Regions from separate parts of the Homo sapiens genome. Here region 1 is linked to region 2. Evidence: promoter capture Hi-C in 16 types of primary human blood cells and fetal thymus (Javierre and others, 2016). All regions are on one chromosome and are shown on one strand. The core of a region is centred on a gene start or on the middle of the fragment in contact, and the rest is flanking DNA. Distances in the headings are between cores, read along the strand shown. Region 1 overlaps LOC105369896 (a long non-coding RNA gene). Region 2 holds the start of NUDT4 (nudix hydrolase 4).

Evidence for each region. Contacts are between HindIII fragments. The CHiCAGO score rates a contact against its expected background, and 5 or more counts as called.
Region 1: a fragment that was not itself captured here is called in contact with the fragment with the promoter of NUDT4 in region 2 in 2 of 17 cell types (fetal thymus and non-activated CD4 T cells); the score reaches 6.8 in fetal thymus.

Annotation. Positions count from the first base shown.
Region 1 is chr12:91,382,935-91,386,476 of GRCh38, reverse strand. The region is part of intron 4 of LOC105369896 (a long non-coding RNA gene); the gene reads left to right. Among named protein-coding and RNA genes, the nearest start is that of LINC02823, 58 kb to the right of the region's middle. The HindIII fragment of the contact is 3,526 bases long and covers 188-3,542 here.
Region 2 is chr12:93,376,362-93,379,958 of GRCh38, reverse strand. It overlaps NUDT4 (nudix hydrolase 4), which reads right to left and starts at 2,034. Exons shown (of 5, transcript NM_019094.6): 1 at 1,538-2,034. The coding sequence starts at 1,636. LOC643339 (a long non-coding RNA gene) reads left to right here and starts at 2,223. Exons shown (of 5, transcript NR_040096.1): 1 at 2,223-2,522. RefSeq lists silencers at 1,403-1,702, 1,923-2,262 and an enhancer at 1,499-2,438. The HindIII fragment of the contact is 6,665 bases long and covers 1-3,597 here.

The DNA of each region.
Region 1 (3,542 bases), core at 701-3,200, 2.0 Mb after region 2:
CAAGCCTTTCTGCACCAGCATGCCTCCCCCACTGCCACCACTCCCATGCCCCACCTGATTTTACTCTCACTTTATTTCACAATGGTTGTGCGTATGCTGTTTCTTCTGTTTTGGACTCTCTTACTTCTTGATCTGATCCTTAACTGCTCTTCAAATTCCAACGTAAGTATCTTTTATCTGTCAAGCTTTCATTAGACTGCACAAAGGCTCACCTAAAATCCTTCTAGTGTTTTGCATATAGGTCCATCATCAGCAGACAACGATGATACTGGCACCTGGTGCACAAGCATCCCCTAGTCCTATCCCTGCAATGAAGCATGTGCTTGTCTGTCTCCTCCAGTAGACCAGAGGCCTCTCAAAAGCAATCATAATTTGATTGCTTTTCAGTACTTCTACCATTTAGTACAGGACCTGACAGAAGGGCAGGGCTGGGGATGGACAGAAACTTGAGCTCAACTCAAGTATAAGTTCTGTTTAATGGTGTGGGTGCCAAGAAGACTTGTGGAGAAGGATTCTGATGTGTAGCCTGTTCTGAGAGGGAAAGAGTTCCATGATCAATTAGCGATGTCGGCTATGGGAGTAGGAAACTGGGAATGGCAGTACCTATCCCACACATTTGCTCTTTTATCACAGGCATTCTGTAATTGTTTGTTGAGAGAACAAATACATTAGCAAACTTGAAGTAATGTTTCTTGCAATGTATATAACAATATTAAGTAAAATATTCTTTACTTCATTTCATAGCCTCTGATCTCAAGGATCACAAAACACATTGAGTATTTTTTATGTCACTGATCACTCCCTTTTAGTTTTGAATGTAGGTATTCATTTCTCTTAGAAGGGAATTTGAGACCCATAATCCATAAACAGATCATGCATATGCATAAAACAAATGTGATCTCCATGGTACCAAATATACAGGGTATCTGTTTTCTTCAGTAACTTGATTCAGTGGTTTTACATAGCCTTAAGATTACATGGTCAGTCAGAAGTAGGGCTTGGATGTCTGACTATTTTCCCCATAAACAGAAGGACAATATAATTTATAGTCCATACTTGGGACACCTTTGAGAGTGAATGGGGTGCTATTAATTATGTTGTAACAAGAGATGTAAACAAAAAACATTCTGGGACATGTGCGACGTATAGTCACCCTACTCTATAGAACTGTGACTCTAATTCTCCTATAGGCTACATTAAGTTGTTTGCTTAATATACACCCAAAACTGTAATTCCAATTGATTTCCTGTGGTTTCTTGGGTCACTGTATTGAGAAAGATATTAAGGCCGCTTCCAGATGTCACAGAAAAGGGTGCTGTGTTTCACTGGTGATGCCTGGTGGCTGACAAATGTGAATGAAAGGACAATGGTAGGAGTGCCCCTCACTTATGATTCCTGATCTAGAACTGAGAATCCACAGCTGTTTGCACTTCTACACTAGGTTCCTAGGAAGTAGTTATTTCCTCAATATTGACTCCTCCTCCATTTTGGTGCTTCAGTTCCCTTTGTGAGGATCTGGATTTCATATGACTTAGGCCATTCATAACCAAGATTTGCTGCTAACTTTCTAGACTTTATAAATTTGCTACTTACCATTTCCAGTTCTAGCTGTGCTACTCAGGATTCTTGATTTCTTGTCTATCCATACCGTCACAATTATAGACTTTTTTGTAAAATCACTTCCACCTAATTTTGGAATTACTGGGCTTCCAGTCCTCATGACCATACCCTTTACCTAGTGCATGGCTACGGGATCTTGTCTTTTATATAGCTTGGCTTCCATTTTTTAGCTTCCTAGCTATGACCAATTTCTCCCTGGCACCTGTAACTAGCAAAATCCTAAGTCCTTACATAACAGTTAATCTCAAAATCTAGTTTCCAAGCCAGTGCTCTCTCAAAGGTCTGTTGTTCTGTTTCCAAAATTAGCAATGAAACATGATGCAGGTATTTCTGATAAGAGGAGGATTTCATAATAAAATTACTCAGAAAAGTATCTCAATTATCAATTTTGTTTCAGCACAGAAGACAGAGCCTGAATGATCTTTGCCAAGTCCCTCAACTTAGTGTTTACAAAACTTCAAAATGTTTACTTAATATAATAATGACAAATCCCAGAGAGTTTTGTGAAGAATAACATAAAAGTCAGAAGGGCTTGCTTTGTTAATGCTAATTAACCCATTTGTGCCTGAAGCTGCAATTTTTTGAATTTTTGCAATCAGATCTTGGTGATGACCTTGAGCAGCAGGATATAAATAACTCCCAGATGCTTAGCGTTCCAATAATGGAACACTAGGCATAAATGGATCAGGACACCTGTCCTAATTCCATTATAGGATTGTACTGAGGAACGAATGCAGTGATAAATAACACAGTTGTTAGAAAATATAAACTATGGTCTTTTGTATAATGCAAATCTCAGATATGTTAGAAATGGCTTTTGTATTATTTATCTTAATCTAACGTAGTTTTAACTCCAAGACTCAATTCTACCATATTGCCAAGAATTCCTCTAGCCTTTTCAAAATAGCACCAGAGACTGGGAGCCTTAAATCTTCATGAAAATAGGGAAGAAGCTGATGTTCTGGCTAACATGGTCACTTCTGATTTTTTCACTATCCAGAAGATCCCCTTGACATCTGGCAGTTCTCAAGTGCTTGTGTACCAGTCTCAGGTGGGAATCTTTGGTCATGTTTGGAACGAACCCAGCTGTGGTCCCATCTCCTGGTAGCCATCTCTCACTTCTGCGGGCTCCTGACATCTAATATTCAACTCTGGAGTCATCCTGCCTTCTCCCACATTCATCTGAGGACCAGGGCTGTGGTTCCACTGCCCTAGGGCCTATGACCAATGAGCCTCTCTCCTCTGGGGGAAGACTCTCCACCCCTGGCTTCTACAAATTCTTCCTTGTCTTCTTTACTGCATGGGCAGGTGGGACAGGATGATTTCTTTCCATTTCCCCATCTCTTCTTCTCTCACTGGGCATCCTGATGGTGGCACAGGGGCAGCTAGGTGTCAGGGCTGGGACTTGAGCAACTCAATAGCTGACAGGCTCAGGGAGATAGGGAAATACATCACTGACAGCCTCGGCCTCTTCCTCTACAATCACCTCATTCTATTTCCAAACTCAATGCTGGACTCCCTCTCATGGGTTGTTGCACATTTGGTGATGAATTTCTTTAACTGGCTCTAGGCCAGGATGATAAAGCAAAGACTATAAAACACACAGAATTACTGCAAAGAAACAGAACCCACATTCTTTCCAGATATTGCATGTTGAAAACTACATATCCGTAGTCATCTGGAGATTTCGTTGTTTAGGAATACAATTCCTAGGTGGATTTTTCTTTTTCTTTTATTATTATAATTATTATTGTCAAAGGAAACTATTATAAACTGAATGCAATAGAAAAAAAAGGGTCTACTACCACTTTTAGTTTCTGTAGTATTGGTTAATGAATATGATACTCCTCTCTACAGCCCCTCTCCCCAACATCCATGTTTTATGGCAAAAGATTATAGGCTCATAAATGCAGCTGGGGCCA
Region 2 (3,597 bases), core at 785-3,284:
GGCACATTGTAAGCACTCAATTAAGAATATCATTACACAATATTGAGGAAACCAGACAAGATCCTTGATCTATCTTGATCCCTTTTGGCTATCATTTCTTTTATATTTAAAGTTTACTACTTTGCCTCAACATGGCCCCTTTCCGCTAAGGCTTTATCTTTTTTACAGAACACACTTAATGCTTGTTGACTTGTTCATTTTGTAAAAGTTAATAACCTTTCCCTTTGCAGTTTCTAGCTCTCCTAAGCAGACCCATCTCAAAGGCTGGGGCCGTATTTCTCTGCACACTCGTTTGGGATTCAAGTCTAATACGTAAAGGTTATGAGTGAGCACAGAGCAACCCATTTAAAGGGCTTGGTTTCTTTTCAAAAAAAAATAAAGGCAAAACAAGGGTTTGAAGGGCAAATTTCGAGAACTTTTCGTTAACATAACAAGAACTAAGCCACTGAGTGTATTCTGTGTCATATTCATCACAACTACAGGGACTAGCAGTAAGGAAGCCATTAAATTCCCATCTCCAGCCTTAGCCTAGTATTTTATACACGGTTGGTTATGAAAGCAGAACTCAGAATGTTAATTTTTTTCACCTATGTAATTTATCTTAAGAGTGGCAATACCAAAAGGCTACTATTGCCCTAAGCAAACTTCAACAGTTAGCCATTTTAAATAAATACTACTGAATTAAGTAAAAATCGCTCTCCAGGGAAACCCCAAGGGTCTCATTCTCAGCCCAATGCAGATGGGTAAATTATCCAAGAACGACTGCTCTGAGAACGAGAAAGGCTACTCCTTTCCAGATGTCAAGCCAGACAGCAAAGAACCCTTTATACATAAGCTGAGAGCTGGAGATTACTGTCTGAAAATGGCAGCTTTGCCCATCTCTAGTCCATCGTCTCCCTTTTGGCATTATTCCACATTTTTCACTAACCATTTTTCTGCAGTCAGAAAACTTTAAGAAGGGAAGGCCGTTTTAAAAATGAGGCATAATTATGCCAACAGCTTGCGGGTTCATGGACCCACAAGAATTGCCAAGACTAGACTCAATTCCAAGCACGAGGACTGTCTGTTACTCCACAAACATGCTTAGATCGAATCCGAGACCGCAAACGGCTGTAACATGGAAGGAAAATATGTAAAAGAGGCACAAGGGCTCTGCTGCAACACTCACGCCATTTCCACCCTCCTCTCGCTGAGCACTCGAGGTTTATCCGGCTTTCAACTCAATTCGCACGTTAAGATGGTGACTCCCGCTAGGCGAGACTTACGCGGCCCGGGACCTTCCCGGGGACCAGGCGCCTTCTCGAGTGCCCAGATGGAGAAACTGGGGCTGGGCGAGCCCCCTTTGTCTCATCTATCAGCCCAGAGAAAGGAAGGAAGAAGTGAGGGAGGAAAGGAGTGAGGGAGGAAAGGAGGGAGGGAGGAAGGGGGCTAATCCCTCCCAGCCCCGCAGCCTGCGCAGGGGCGGGGAGCGAGGGGAAGCACCCGGGCCCTAGACCCCGGCGCCCCGGAGGGCAGCGTGCGGCGCCGGGCGCCCTACCTCGTCCTCCTGCTCGCTCCGGAAGCACAGGCACGCCGCCCGCTTCTTGAAGCCCTCGCGGTCGTAGGTCCGCGTCTGGTTGGGCTTGAACTTCATCATAGAGGCGGGCTCCTGCTGCTGCTGCTGCTGCTCCGGCCGCCGCCGTGGGGGCCCGGCCGCCGCCACCCCGCCGGGGAGTGGGGGCGAGGGCGAGTCGGGCGCAGGAGCGCCCGGGAGCGCTAGTCGGTGCGGGAGGTGCGGCGAGGCCGGTCAGTCCCGGGGCCGGCGGCCGCTCCGACGCGGGCGGGACGGGACGCTAGCGCGGGTCACTGGAACCAGGGTGCCGAGATGAAAGCTCCGCCTCTGCCCAGTTGTCCGCCGCTCTCCATGGAGCCCGACTCCCGCTCGCCTCCGCTCCCTCCGGCCGTAGCCGCCAGGGGAAGGGCGGCTAGAGGCGCGCGCCACGCGGAGACAGTTGCGAAGACCCGCTCCCACTGAGCAGCAGCACCGCGGCGACCGCGCGCCGCCCCCTCTGCTCTGTTTAAATGAAGCCCACATGCGCCCCGCCTCCCCCGCGCGCCACTGCGCCTGCGTGCAGAGACCATTGCAATGGGGTGGGTGGGTAGGTGTGGCGGGGGAGGTAGGGGCGGGACCTCGGCCGCCCGGTGGGCGGGGCCGCGCGCACTCCCGGGCTGGAGTTCGGCGAGGCCTTGGGACTGGCGCTGGAGCCCAGCGTGGGATGACCGTGCCCCGAAAACATGCCAGTGAATGGAAAGAAGCCAAGGTCCCCTCCCTCCCTGCTTATACCCTCAACTTTGCCAATGAGGACCCTAAATACCAGCTGCACTACAGGGGATGTAACTACATACACCGTCACCAAAGTTGCAGCCTGGCCAAGAAATGCCAGGGGACGTCGCGGCGATTGCAGACTCCGCGGTGACTGTGTAGATACGTCCAGAATTCGCCCTTGTAGCGCGGGGAGAGGCGAGAGTGAAGGCCTAGAAAAGTTAAGACGTTAACTGTTTTTTTTTTCTTTGTTTTCACAAATGGGGGGTAGGCAAATTTCCTTTTTTTTTTTTTGTATTTAAATTTTTAATCTTTGGTTGGGGATGGCTTGTATTATTTAAAGAGTCAACTCTAGCTTAAACGTTTCTTTGAAGCTGTCTATAACATCCCCCACTTTGTGCCACCTTCCGGAAAGTATTAATACTGGCAATGGCTAATAGTTGCGAAATGGTTTTCATGTGGATCTCATGCTAAGTAACAGCGCAGCTGGATGCTGGGGCCACAGCACTAAAATATAATGGGATTTCTGCTATCTGGGAGCTTACAGTACCTTGGGGACTTGGAACAAACAACCTCTACACTTCAGAGTGTTAGAAGGGCTAAGATAGGAGCCAGGAGGCCTGATCTTAAGGTAGCTCGAGAAACCCAAACTCAGGCCATTCTGCCCTTCCACAGAGGCCCAGGTTGCTTGGGTCCTGACTTGGTTGGTTGGTTTTTCACCCCTTGAGGGCCTATTGTGTGTCAGGCACTGGCATCTAACAAAACCAGTCAGCCCCTGCCTCTCCAGGAGCGTAGGCACCTGAGAGCACACCGTCAAATATTAAATGATCACACGTGTACACGTAAAACTACAAATGTAATGGGCTCTAAGGTTTCAGACAAAGATTTGACCAGATCTGCAGTCAGAAAAAGATTATTGGGGCAGCAAGGCAGGAGCTGAGGGCTGAAGGAGGAGGAGCTAAATTGACCAAGAGCTTTCAAGGCAAAGGGAACTGGGATTTCTGCAGAGCCCAAAGTGGGAGGGAGTGAGGAGAGTTCTCAGAAATGAAAGAAAAGGCCAGTGTGGCTGCAGAGCGGAGGCAAGCTGGTTCCGCCTCTGGCAGAGGGGCCTGTGAGGCCTGACTGAGAGGCTGGGGACCACTGGAGAGCTCAGAGCAGGCACTGGTCTTTCTAGTCTCCAACCTCCTTTAGATTTGGGACTGCTGCATCTAACTCATCTTGTTACTCCCAGAGCCCAGCAGATGTAAGTTTGTAGAATGGGTTAGTGTTGAATAAATAATTTAAGGAATGAGGCT